Regions from separate parts of the Homo sapiens genome. Here all the other regions are linked to region 2. Evidence: promoter capture Hi-C in 16 types of primary human blood cells and fetal thymus (Javierre and others, 2016). All regions are on one chromosome and are shown on one strand. Each heading gives the region's core, a stretch centred on a gene start or on the middle of the fragment in contact. The rest is flanking DNA. Distances are from core to core; before and after follow the strand shown.

Region 1 (4,835 bases), core at 2,083-4,582, 310 kb before region 2:
AGGGGCCAGGTGCGGTGGCTCATGCCTGTAATTCCAGCACTCTGGGAGGCTAAGGTGGGTGGATTTCTTGAGGCCAGGAGCTCAAGACCAGCCTGACCAACATGGTGAAACCCCATCTCTACTAAAAATACAAAAATTAGCTGGGCGTGGTGGCGGGTGCCTGTAATCCCAGCGACTCAGGAGGCTGAGGTGGGAGGATCACTTGAAGCCGGGAGGTGGAGGCTGCAGTGAGCTGAGATCATGCCACTGCAGACTAGCCTGGGTGACAGAGCGAGACTCTTGTCTCACAAACAACAACAACAACAACAACAACAAAAAACCAGATCCAAAAGATCCAGCATTTACCATATGCCAGGCATTCCTCCATGATTAGCCTGCCTCATAAAGATGAGGAAACTGAGGCACAGGGCGTGGGGATACTGAGTCATTTACAAAGGTCAGTGAATTTCCTTTGTCCCAGGAACTTGTTAGAGGCAGTTCAGGTAGAGTAAAAAGCACAAACCCTGGAGCCAGGCTGCATGGGTTCAAGTCCTGGTTCTGCCATCAGTAAATGTGCCATCTCAGGCTAGTCATCACACCTCTTTGTGCCTCAGTTTCCCTGATCTTCAGAGAGGAAAATGAGGTAAGCTTACCCTACCTCATAAGGCTGCTTTGCCAAGTAACTGAATGAATAAGACACATGAGGTGCTCAGAAGAGTGCTCTGCACATAGTGAGCACTCAATTAAGGCTGTTAATGTTGCTGTTATTCTTATTACTACCCAGTATGTGCCAACAATCCCAGGCAGGGACACTCAAAGGAGATTTCAGGAAACTGTCCTGAGTGATGGTGCCAACATTTCCAAACTACCCTCCCACTGTGGGAAGAGGGACCAAGAGAAAGTTACCTCTAGGATAAGGATAATGCGGCCACTGGCAAGGCCCATCAGCAGGTGGGTGAGGTGGGCATAACCCTCAGGTGACACCTGGCAGCCCCCCAGCGGATCCCCCCGTGCAGCATCAAAGCCAGCTGAGACCAGCACCAGTTCTGGGTTAAACTGAGGCAGGGAGAGAAGAGATGTATAAGCATGAGGGTAGGGGCTTTTGGTAGGCAGTAAGTGATGGCGACCCAGAGACATGGAGAAAAGGACAAATGAAGACATGGAGATGCAAGTCAGAGAGATGGAGACACAGAACCTGGAGACTAGGAGACACAAAAGCAGAGACTGAAAATGAAGAAGGGAAGAAAAGAAATACAGACTCAGAGGTAGAAGAAATAGATGCAGACTTAGAGACATGGAGATGGCAGAAAGGGACAGATGGGGGCCGGGCATGGTGGCTCAGGCCTGTAATCCCAGCACTTTGGGAGGCCGAGGCGGGCAGATCATGAGGTCAGATTGAGACCATCCTGGCTAACACAGTGAAACCCTGTCTCTACTAAAAATACAAAAAATTAGCCAGACGTGGTGGCGGGAGCCTGTAGTCCCAGCTACGCAGGAGGCTGAGGCAGGAGAATGGCATGAACCCAGGAGGCGGAGCTGGCAGTGAGCCGAGATTGCACCACTGCACTCTAGCCTGGGTGACAGAGCAAGACTCCATTTCAAAAAAAAAAAAAAAGGGACAGATGGGGACATGAGACAGACTGACACGTCAAGAGAGTGACATGAAAAACAGAGAGACAGAGACATGTCCTCACACACACATACCCCAGGGTCAAACGTGGGACACACATACACAAGATACAGGGTTTTATATACATAGTGCCAAAGAGAGGTGCTTGCACACTTCCAAAACAGAAGATGGCAACGCAAGAACCACATACAGAGAAGATGGTCACACAGAGCCACACGTACTGCCACACAGACAGTACCATATAGATCAGTACTATATATCTGCACTAGTCATGTACACACACACAGTTTCTCAAAGAGGACAATAACCCACAGCCATCCTGCACAGTCACATACACATGCCATCACCACACAGCCACAATGGCGACATGCACTCTGGTATGTCCACAAGAGCTGGTTATTTGCACATACAGTTGTACACACACAGAAGGCTGTCCTGGCTACCCATGCACAGTCAGATGCACATGCAGATCCAAAGATGCACACCGGCGCCCAGGGTGACAGAGCGGTGCTCACACCCTTTCCCTCCCTCCCAGAGTCAGCCATACACAAGCCACCAGCCTCCTAGCTCACACAGAGGGAAGGCAGCTACCTCCCAGTCAGAGACATACACACAAACAGCCAGGGCAGACAGCCAGACAGTGACTGCTGTCACACACAGCCTTCCACATCCAGAAGGTCCCACACAGGCTGTCACAGAGATGGTTGCATTTAGTGACATACAGTATCACACCCATCACACAGAGAAAAGGTGAGAAATACCTGCCTGCACAGAGTCGCACACGCACATACTCAAGCACTTGTGATGGCACGCACATACAACACAGATCCAGCCAGGACACGGGCCATTGGTGCATAGTCAGAAGGCCCTCACACACACAGCCAAGACAGTCACTCACACAGTGTCACACAGAGAAGGCAGTCATGTACAGCCATCTGTGCACAAATACACAAGGTGATCACAGCCACCAACTGCCCTGGTAGCCTCATTAAACACCCATGCGCTGTCTCATATCATCAGCCACATGGTAGTCACACACACACATGCCAAGGAGGCAGGTCCAGGCTGCCACCTGCACAGGCGTGTCACATACGTCCTGCGATCTATCCTGAGCTGTACCTCGTAGGCAATGGGAAGCACCAGGCGATGCCAGGCAGCTAGGTAGTCAGCATCACCCATGCGGGGCCCGTTCCATGCCACGTTGACGGTGAAGCCTGTGCCCGCAGCCCGGCCGATCTGGCTGCTGGCACCCTCATCCCCCATGGGGAAGAAGGTGCCATGATCATAGCGGTGCAGGGACACATATAGCACACTGCCAGGGAGGGGGTGGGAAGCGGACCATGGCTGGTTAGGGGCTCCAGTACCCCTGAGGTGCTCACCCGCCTCCCTGATCACACTGCGGCCCCTGACTGCAGCCCTTACCTGGGGTCATCCTCAAACATGTGCTGAGTTCCATTACCGTGGTGGACATCCCAATCCACAATCAGGATCCTGGGGAGGAGACAGCACCTCAGTAACCGACGATACTCACGCCCTGGAAGAGGGCTGGGCTAGACCCCTGGGGTCTGCAGGGGCATTTAGTGCTGAGTGGCAGGACCCTGGGTCCTATCAGTTAAGGAGAAAAGTCTGATCCTGGTTCCCAAGGGCTGCCCGGTAGGCCTGAGCAAGTGCTCGGGGCTGGGCCCTGGGCTCTTCTGGGTCATTGCTAGGGAACTGGACCCTGGGCCTTGGGCAGCTAATGCTGGGGGCTGGTTCGTGGGTCTTCTGGAGTATGCATCAGGAGCCTAGACCTGGGTTCTGTCGAGGCAGCTGCTATAGGCCAGAAATGCTGGGGTGGGACCCTGGATCCTGTTTTGTAAGTGCCCAGGTAACATGATCTGGGGGTCCTATCTAAATAAGCACTGAGAGGCTCCATCCTCGGTCCTTCTCTGGGTAAGGACTGCACCCTTACTTCTTTCTGGGGAAGGAAGTCCTGGGAGCTGGACCATGGGGCATGAGTAAACAATGGGCTGGGGGGAGCATCCAGGTCCCCACAAGGATCAGGATTTGGGGGGTCCCCAGGGAGTCCTTACCGTAGGGCATGCCCACTGATAGTCTGGGCATGGCGAGCAGCCACAGCCACAGAGTTGAAAAAGCAAAAACCGCAAGCTGCATCCTGCTCTGCGTGGTGTCCTGGGGGACGCACCACAGCAGCACCATTCAGAACCTGGGAAGCAGCAGGGTGCTAAGATCGGACAGCCTGCCCTCACCTTCCTTTCTTCCTTTTTTTTTTTTTTTTTTGAGACGGAGTCTCGCTCTGTCGCCCAGGCTGGAATGCAGTGGCGCCATCTCGGCTCACTGCAAGCGCCGCCTGCCAGGTTCCCGCCATTCTCCTGCCTCAGCCTCCTGAGTAGCTAGGACTACAGGCGCTTGCTGCCACGCCCGGCTAATTTTTTGTATGTTTCTTAGTAGAGACGGGGTTTCACCATGTTATCCAGGATGGTCTCGATCTCCTGACCTCGTGATCTGCCCACCTCGGCCTCCCAAAGTGCTGGGATTACAGGTGTGAGCCATCACGCCCGGACCTTTTTTTTTTTTTGACACAGGGTCTCACTCTGTTGCCCAGGCTAGAGTGCAGTGGTGCAATCATGGCTTACTGCAGCCTTGACCTCCTGAGCTCACCTCAGCTTCTCAAAGCGCTAGGATTACAGACGTGAGCCACTGCACTTGGCCACCCTTCCCTTTCTCCAGTTCCTTCCATTATTCCCCCAGCCTCTAGGCCCACCCCCTCCCGTGCCCCTCCCCATGGCCCCTTTCCTCAGGCCCTGCTTGACTCTCTCAGAGCCTCCAGAAACAGCAGATGGCTCTCTTTTTCCATTCCCCCCAGGTCCTCCTCTCCCCAGCCCACAGAGGACACACCTCTCCTGAGAGCACAGCCTCCACCAGGCGGCAGGCAGCGCCAGTGGCAAGCTGTGCACAGGCGAAGGTACTGGGGCAGATATAGATGGAGTCAAAGTTGGAACTCTCACGGTGCAGCTCCCGGGTTTTCATTTTCTCTGTGGCCCGGAGATGACCCACGTACTCAGCACTGGAAGCACAGAGAGGAGCACCCGCAGGACAGTGAGGAGGGTCTGTCCCCTCCCTGGTCCCCACCCCTAAGACAGGGACTTCAGCCCCTCTCAAGTCCTGCAGCAGCTCCCCAGGAGGGGAAACCCAAGTTCCAGCCCCTGAGACCTCATCCACAGTC
Region 2 (4,638 bases), core at 301-2,800:
CCAGAAATCTCCGCCTCCTATAGGAATCTTGGGGACTTGGAATCTTTCATTAAGATACAGGCCTGCTATGACTGTGGAAACATTTCAGAATCCTAGAATCCAGAAATCGCATCATGCCCTGATTATAGAAATCCACAATGCCAACATTTTAGAAGTCTAGAATGTGAGAATTTCAAATTGTCAGAATCTCCAAACGCTGTAATCATGGTACTTTGGGATTCCATAACCCTGTGACATCAGCATGCCAATGTCTTATAACCTTGGGATGTAGACATTTCAGAATCCCAAGATCCAAGAATCTCAGCTTTCTGGAATCCCAGAACTCAGGAATACTGAAGGGCATGGCTTGGCATGGCAGGATGTGGCTCGGTGTGGCATGGCATGGGGTGGCTGGCATAGTAGGATGTGGTATGGTGGAATGGGGTTTGGCCTGGTGGGATGTGGTGGGGCTGAACATGTTGGGGTCCAGCTTGGACATGCTAGGGCCTGGCAGGATGTGACAGGGTAAGGTGTGGCTCGATATGGATGAATGTGGGAGGTCTGATATGGCCTGGCATGGTGGCACACGGTATGGCAGGCACTTACCGAGCCTCCAGAGGAGGCGGCAGGCGAGGCAGATGGCAAGGAGCAGCCAGATCTGGTCAAGGCCCTGCTGGGCAGTAGGCAGGAGACAGCCTTGCAGTAGCTGCTGGAAAAATTCCTGGCGGCTAAAGGTGGCCATTGCAGACCCCCACGGATGGATGGCCAGATGGATAGATCTGTCAAAGCAGGGACACAGAGGGAGCGGGTGTCCGTGGGGCAGACCTCGCTTAAAGGATGCACTCTGGCACTCACATTTCAGTTTGGGGCTGCCCAGCCCATGTAGAGGCACGGTACTGGAGGACTGGGGGAAGGCGTGAGAAGTCAGGTACATCAGACTGAGCCACCAACTGTGTGCATGTGGGTGTTCGGCATGCACACGCACAGCCTGTGACCTGGAGTGAATGAAGGACCTCTGTCTCTCCAGTGCTGTGAACAGTCCAGTCCGATGGTGATGGGATGGCATACATTTCAGGCCCATATATCAAATGGGGCGGGCGACGGGAAGGGGAATCCCTGGTTTCCAAGGTAGAGTCGCTCTGAGTGGAGGGCAGAGAGGGGGATTCTGTGACACTTGGGGGCCGTGTGCATCTCTCCTTGTATGGATGCGGCGGCACGGGGAGGGGGGGTGTCCTGTATCCTCCGCGCCCCCCATCTCATCCCCACCCGGCGAGAGGCCGCCAACAAAGTCCTGCCCAGGTCCGGGGGCTGCAAGGAGGTGGTGGTAGGAGACATAGCCTGAGGGAGAGTCGGAAAGGTGATGGGGAGGGGGTCCTAGCACTCGCGCTACAGATCCGCCTGGGGAGGCCGGCCCAGGGATGGGAGCTGGGGAGCCGCGTGCGCACTACTGGCGACCTACCTGGCAGGAAAGAAGCCGTGGTCCTGGGGACCGAGGACGCGCTGCCGCCGCCGCTGCCTCCTCCGGGCAGCCTCCCCCGCAGGCCGCAAGGCCGGGACCAGCAGCGGCTCCCAGAGCGGCGCGGCGAGCGGGCCCTTTAAATCCCGGGGCGGCCCGGCCGCCGGCTCGGCCAATGGGAGAGCAGGAGGGGGGCGGGGACGGGGACGCGGAGGAGGGGAGCAGGAGGATTGAGGGGAGACCGGCGCGGGGGGACGTCGGCGCGCAGGACGTTCACGCCCGCACCTTTCCGGCCTGTGGCGGTTTCAGCCCCAGACCGTCTGCCTCCGGAGGATTTCTGGCCATCCAAGAACAAACTTCCGAATCTCCAAATTTCCAAGCCTTGGAAGTGAGAAGGGAAAGATGGGGGAGGGAGGAGGGAAGCCGCTGCACCCCCAAATAGTCACCCGCGCACGTCCTCTAAATACCGTGGTGTCCCCGTTTCACAGATGGGAAAACAAACCGAGATCTCTCCTTCCCCAACCTTTGAGAGAACCGAAGTAACTCCCAACCCTCCCACCTCCTGGGACCGGCCAGGAACATTTATAAGTAATGACTGTGTCACCTAGGAACACAAATTAGGCGCCTGTGCTTCCCCTGGGGACGAGCTGTGAGCACTTGGCGTGTCGTCGTTGAGAAGTGATTTGCATGCTTAATTCCCCAGCAGACTCTTTGCTTCGAAGGTGACCCCAGCGACTAGTAAATGTTCTCTGTGAACTAGAGGGAGGCTAGTACCGAGCACTTAAAAGGGGGGCATTTATAAAGCTCTTAAGGGCCAGGCTCGGTGGCTCACGCCTATAAACCCAGCACTTCGGGAGGCCAAGGGTAGGAGGATAGCTTGAGGTCAGGAGTTCGAGACCAGCCTGGCCAACATGGCGAAACCCCGTCTCTACTAAAAATACAAAAATTAGCCAGGCGTGGTGGCGCACGCTTGTAATCCCAGCTACTCGGGAGGTTAAAGCAGGAGAATCAGGAGGCAGAGGTTGCAGTGAGCCAAGATCGCGTCATTGTGGGCTACAAGAGCGAAACTCCGTCTCAAAATAAATAAATAAAGACTGGGCGTGGTGGCTCACACCTGTAACCCAGCACTTTGGAAGGCCGAGGCGGATGGATCACCTGAGGTCATGAGTTTGAGACCAGGCTGGCCAATATGGCGAAACCCTGTCTCTACTAAAAATACAAAAAATTTAGCTGGGCGCCTGTAATCCCAGCTACTCCGGAGGCTGAGGCAGGAGAATCACTTGAGCCCAGGAGACGGAGGTTGCAGTGAGCCGAGATCACGCCATTGCACTCCAGCCTGGGTGACAAGAGCAAAACTCCTTCTCCAAAATAAATAAATAAATAAACAAGAGCGAAACTCCTTCTCTAAATAAATAAATAAATAAAATAAAAAAGAAAGCGCTTACACTGGCCCCATCCGCACCTCTATCTGCACCAACACTAAAGATTTATGTAGCACCCGCCTTCTACCTACCCTACTGCTGCAGTTTCTAGGCATTCCCCTTTGTACCTAGGCTGATGAAGGGCCTATTTTTCCAAAAGAGCACTTACTGGGCGCTTACTGCACTACATGCTTAGCTGTGACGTGGAAGGGAGAAGGAAGCCCAGGTCAAACTGGACGCCACCCTGACCTGGGCAGCCAACTGAAACAGATTTTAATCAGATTAACAATGGCCTGTATGGAGCTGGGCAAGTCATGTTCACTCACCCGTCTCCATTGTCCTTTTCTGTTAAACAAAAGAGTGGGCTTGGCAGGTTTTTGCTGGGAAACACCAATGGTAATTGAAGAGAAATGTATATTTTCTCTCTATTTTAACATGAAGTTAAATGGAGTTCTAGCTCATAAATTAGTATTCATGTATTACAAACAAAAAACATTTAATACGGTAAGAATATGTATATATAAGGAATAATAGCTTAGACCAGATGCACAAATATCAATTCTTTTCCTTAACAGCAGAATACAGGACATACATTTTATGAATTAAATTTCATTTTAATTTTTTTCTCAGTTGTCAAACCCACTCAAGTTGAGTCAACAATGACCCACAGCACCTACCAGAAATACTTCCCTCAATTGCAAGACTTGGCATTTAAAACTGGAAGATTCTTACCACATGTGCTCCTGGGCTTTGCGGACTTGATTGTTTCCATCTAGGCTTTTGACCTGTGTCACAAAGAAGTAGGATCTAGGTTTTAGGATATATAACGAACATCTACAAATCCGAAGAGGACAAACAATACACTTGGCAATAGACATTGGGTACAAATAGGTAATTCACAGCAGAAGAAACCTAAAATGGTCAATATGTATAATATATGAAAAGATAACCCAATCTCTTTACTGCTCAGGGAAATGTAAAATTAAAACAACAGTGAGATATAATACCATTTTACATCTACCAGATGTTGTGCTTCATATTTTTATCACTGGAGCTTAGTAGAGGGTGGACACTCAATAAATGTCTGTGGTCATTCTAGGTTGTGGTTTCTGGGGTGTTTTAGATGAGCTCTCCATAATTAAAGAGATACAAATTAAAAACAATGATATACTATTTTTCACTTATGGGACTGACAAAAATGCCAAGCCTTATAATGATAACATATTTGCTCTCTCTCTGTCTCTGTCCGTTTCTTTCTCCCCATGTATATACATATGTAATTTACATATATATAATTTTTCTGAATGATATACAGTGATTTTTCTGAATTATTTGTTAGTGGTTGCGGATATGACACCCTTTTAACTAAATACTTCAGTATGAATATCCTAAGAGCAAGGACTTTTTTTTCTTTTTTTACATTGCTACCAGCATAGTATGAGGTTTCCATTGCTCCACATCCTCACAAATACTTGTTATCTGACTTTTTGGTTCTAGCCACCCTGGTGGGCATGTCAATAGTGTCCTTGTATAGGAAAAGGGAATCATAGGGTCACAAGATACATTCTGTTATCAGGTTTTTTTAGTCTCCTCCAATGTGGAACAATGTCTCCATCTTCACTTAACTTTCATGATCTTGATGTTTTGGGAGAGCACAGACCAGTTCTTTGGAAGAATGTCCTTCAATTTGGGTTTATCTGATGTCTCCTCATGATTAGATTTGAATTCTGCATTTTTGGCAGGAATTCCACAGAAGTGACGCTGTGTTCTCAGCGTTATCAG
Region 3 (4,384 bases), core at 1,464-3,963, 470 kb after region 2:
AAGTAGGAATCCATGGTGGTGAGTCACACTTCCTTATCTAATCCAGTGCTTTGGACGTTTATCTGCTGTAATGTGGTAGTCAGGAGTTACGTTTATTCTTTCTGGCAAAGTGATTTCTTTATCCCTTTCTGTGAAGCCTCTTCTGTTTTTTTCTTGGCTCTCTAAACTGGGGGATTATGCATAAGAATTTTCTTGGCATCTCAAACATGGGGATGGCGTGTGGGAATTTCCTCAGCTCCTCAATCCCTGGTGATTGCATGGGGCAGGGGGTTCACTTGACTCCACCCCAGAAATTGTGCGTGGGAGTTCTCTGGGCTTTCTGCCATGGAGATTACATGAAGTGTTCCCTTGGCTCTTCAATCTTGGCTTAACTATCTGTTAATCCCATGGGGAACTCATTCTCTCAGATGCCTTCCCTCCTCTTCTTTCCTGTTTACTACATGTCTTCCCGCTGGGGCACTGATTCAGTCTAATGTATTCATAAATGGCCAAAAAATTACCAGAGGGAATTTGGAACTTCAGTAGCCTCTTTAGGGAACTTGCGATCTCCCCAGATTAGCTCATCTAAGACCTTTCCCTTCCCATGGCCTCTACTCCTCCTTCCTTCCCTTACCACCTTTGATCTTCCTTTCAGTTTCCTGGGATCCTTTGATGTTGTCCCCATTCATATACCTACCTCCTCCACCTCTCTGTCTACCCCTGCCAGACCTTTCCCTTCTCAAACCAGTACCTCAACTCCCTATAGTCATTAGCGCTTTGGTCCTTCTGCCACCACAGGGGGACTCTTGAGGGGTTCAGAGGCTCCAAAAGCAAGCATCAGAGGCTGAAAGCTAGCTGGAAACAGACTGGATATTTTAGCTACTCAGATGGTCTTTGGAGATACCCAGATGGCTGCTGGGTGTCTGTTCAGTCCCTCACCAAACATTTGGTCCACAACATCCATCAAATTACACATCAGGGCAAAGAAAATCTTAAAAGTCTCCTCCATGCCGGGCGCGGTGGCTCACGCCTGTAATCCCAGCACTCTGGGAGGCCGAGGCGGGCGGATCATGAGGTCAGGAGATCGAGACCATCCTGGCTAACACAGTGAAACCCCATCTCTACTAAAAAATACAAAAAATTAGCCTGGCGTAGTGGCGGGCGCCTGTAGTCCCAGCTACTGGGGAGGCTGAGGCAGGAGAATGGCATGAACCCAGGAGGCGGAGCTTGCAGTGAGCCGAGATCACGCCACTGCACTCCAGCACTCCAGCCTGGACAACAGAGTGAGACTCCGTCTCAAAAAAAAAAAAAAAAAAAAGAAAAGAAAAAAAAGGTCTCCTCCAGAAATATTGATGGGAAGCTTTAGCCCTCATGTTGAATAGGTAAACCTCAACTTGTCCCGTCTGCCAGAAACAGAATTCTGATAAAAATACAAAGTGGGGCAAAGACAATGAGCCAACTCTGTTGTATTGACTAGTGAGTTTTGTATTTCTGTGTTTATGCCTGAATCGTGGCTAAAATTTTAGAATGAAACCTGTAAGATCTTTATTTGCATCTGCCTGTATGTTTATGTATTTATTTTATGCATATGTGATATTTTTCTACCTCTGGATGATACTATCAAATTAATTTATAAAATTCCTTAAAAACCCTAAAACTGTCAGAAAAAAAAAATCTGAACTTCTAATACTTCCAGTGTGGGGGAAAAAGTATTCTCTAAAACCTAACATAAATGTTTTAAAAATTCAATTTACTGCCGGGCGTGGTGGCTCACACCTGTAATCCCAGCACTTTGGGAGGCTAAGGCGGGTGGATCACCTGAGGTCAGGAGTTCAAGACCAGCCTGGTCAACGTGGTGAAACTCCATCTTTACTAAAAATACAAAATTAGCCGGGCGTGGTGGTGCATGCCTATAATCCCAGCTACTCGGGAGGCTGAGGCAGGAGAATCGCTTGAACCCAGGAGGCGGAAGTTGCGGTGAGCCATGAGCACACCACTGCACTCCAGCCTGGGCAACAAGAAGGAAATTCATCTAAAAAAAAAAAATTCAAGTTACCTAATTTAGGTAAATCTTTGGCAAACAAAATTAGCTTAATATTGTTGGCTTAATAAAAATAGCTATGTTTTATGAGTTATTACCATTAAGTATAACAGAAGTATACACTTCTTTCTACTTGGTATGTTCTTCCTAAATGTGTACAGGTTTACTAGTCGAATAAGCCAATATTGTATCAACTAGATTGTGAGATATATATTCATAAGCTTTGCTAGCCTGCTCTATGATAGACAGTTCATAGTTATCTACTTCCTAGTTTTCTCTGCAAAGTAAAAGTCATTAGTGGATAAAATTATAATCAATATATGTAAATGAAACTACTAGAAGCAATGGGGCAAAGATAAACAACTTTGTATGTAAGATATGCTCAGTATGTTTCCTCAACATTTTTCATAATTAAATCTTCAAGCATACAGAAGATACAAAGAATTGTTTGGTAAGTGCCAATATACCCTACACCCAGACTGTTACATGTTGTTAACCTGGCTTTATCTCATCTCTTTTCATCTATCCATGTTTCTATCTGTCCATCAATCCATGTTATTTTTTGGTGCAATTCAAAGTAAGTTGCAGATTTCAGTGCACTTCGCTTCTAGATAATTCAGCGTACATATCATTAACTAGAGTTCAATATTTACAGTTTTAAGTAAAATTGTATACAGTGAAATGTATAAATCTCAAGTGTATCATTCAAAGAATTTTGACAAATGTAAACCCCTATCAAAACATTAAACACGACCATCACCTGAGACAGTTCCCTCATGCCCTTTCCTTATCAATCCCTGCTGCCACCCCCTCCAGAGGCAAGCATTGTCCTGACTTTTCTCACCATAGATTAGTTTAGCCTCTTCTAGAAACTTCACATAAATCGAGCCATGCTGAGCTGGCTTGTGCCATTTCGCTGGGGCCAGCTGTTATCAGCACACCACTGATTGCAACCCAGAATTTTATACCTCAAGGCTGATCCCCTTCTGCTGCCAGACAGGAATGTGTTGTGCTAAAGTCTTCCAGCACAGTTTTACTTGATCCTCATGGGAATCCCACGTAAATGAGCCCTGGCTTCATTTTACAGATGGTGAAGGAGAGTCCCAGAGAGGGTAAAACTTTAGTTCATTGGAGATTGAGTTTTTCCATCAGTTTACTAAGCTTTATTGTTTGTTTGTTTTTGGTTTAGTTTTGTCTTTTACAGATGGGGTCTCACTATGTTGCTCAAGCTGGTCTTGAACTCCTGGTGCCTTGACCTCCCAAAGTGCTGGGATTACAGGCGTAAGCCACTATGTCCAGTTTAGCAAGCTTTAATTTTAATAGTCCGTTAGGTCTGTCTATCATTACAGGAGAGAGAGATGATAAAAATATTCTGTTTTAATATTTGGTCTTTGACCCCAGTTTCTGATACAAAGCTCTTAAGACCGTTGTAATTTCTTGTGTGATAGGAGTGTCTGACACAGAGCTTCTAAATCCCTTGGAATTTCCTGGGTGATAGAAGCATCTTTTGCTCTAATGAGGTGACCTCTTAATGTCCTCCTGGATAGCCTCAGGATGGGAGCTGGTTGCCAGGGGAATCAACCATGTGATTAGAAGGTTGGGACCTCCAGCCCCATCCCTCAACTCTGGGGCTGAAGGTTGAATTGATCATCAATGGCTAATGATGTAATCAATTACATCTAGGTAATGGAGCCTCTATAAAAACCCAAAAGGACAGGGCTTGGGGAGCTTCCAGATAGCTGGAAATGTGTGGGTTCTTGGAGGGTGGTGCTCTGGAGGCGGCATGGGAACTCCACACCCCTTCCCTCATGCCTTGCTCTATGCATCTTCGCTATCTGGCTGTTAATCTTCATCCTTCATTATATCCCTTATTAATAAACCAGTAAACATAAGTAAAGTGTTTGCCTGGGTTCTGTGAGCTGCTCTAGCAAATGAATTGAACCTCAGGGGGGTCGTGGGAATCCTGACTTACAGCCAGTTGGTAAGAAGTACAGGTCTCAATATGTGCTTGCAACTGGCATCTCAAATGGGAGACAGTCTTGTGAGACTGAGTCCTCAACTTGTGGGAGCTGACTCTGTCTCCAAGTAGATAGTCAGTAGTGGATTGAATTAGAGGACACCCAGCTCTTTATACCTGTGCTTTATGTTGACTTTTTCATATCCTTAGTTATTTAAGAGAATCAAGTTTTTTCACTTTTTAAAGAGCTATTTTTACAACCATGTTACCTCCTATATTTACTTTAAAATCACTTTAGTTAAATGGTAGCCAAGTATTGTTTATCAGTGACCCATGACCCTATTTAACCAAATTTTCAAGTATCCTAACAATTTTTGACATTTTGCCTTCCTCAAATCTAATCTTTT

The links. The method cuts DNA at HindIII sites, captures the fragments that hold promoters and counts their contacts. A CHiCAGO score of 5 or more calls a contact.
Region 1: a fragment that was not itself captured here is called in contact with the fragment with the promoter of PORCN in region 2 in 1 of 17 cell types (neutrophils); the score reaches 5.0 in neutrophils.
Region 3: a fragment that was not itself captured here is called in contact with the fragment with the promoter of PORCN in region 2 in 2 of 17 cell types (M2 macrophages and M0 macrophages); the score reaches 7.1 in M2 macrophages.

The regions. Positions count from the first base shown.
Region 1 is chrX:48,816,306-48,821,140 of GRCh38, reverse strand. It overlaps HDAC6 (histone deacetylase 6), which reads right to left. Exons shown (of 29, transcript NM_006044.4): 19 at 4,508-4,676; 20 at 3,682-3,815; 21 at 3,032-3,100; 22 at 2,729-2,921; 23 at 886-1,035. Among named protein-coding and RNA genes, the nearest start is that of ERAS, 7.8 kb to the left of the region's middle. The HindIII fragment of the contact is 5,405 bases long and covers 630-4,835 here.
Region 2 is chrX:48,505,904-48,510,541 of GRCh38, reverse strand. PORCN (porcupine O-acyltransferase) reads right to left here and starts at 1,550. Exons shown (of 15, transcript NM_203475.3): 1 at 1,439-1,550; 2 at 586-758. The coding sequence starts at 721. PORCN-DT (PORCN divergent transcript) reads left to right here and starts at 1,703. Exons shown (of 2, transcript NR_135596.1): 1 at 1,703-1,823; 2 at 3,487-4,016. RefSeq lists a silencer at 1,324-1,723. The HindIII fragment of the contact is 7,257 bases long and covers 1-4,638 here.
Region 3 is chrX:48,041,837-48,046,220 of GRCh38, reverse strand. No RefSeq gene overlaps it. Among named protein-coding and RNA genes, the nearest start is that of ZNF630-AS1, 12 kb to the left of the region's middle. The HindIII fragment of the contact is 940 bases long and covers 2,244-3,183 here.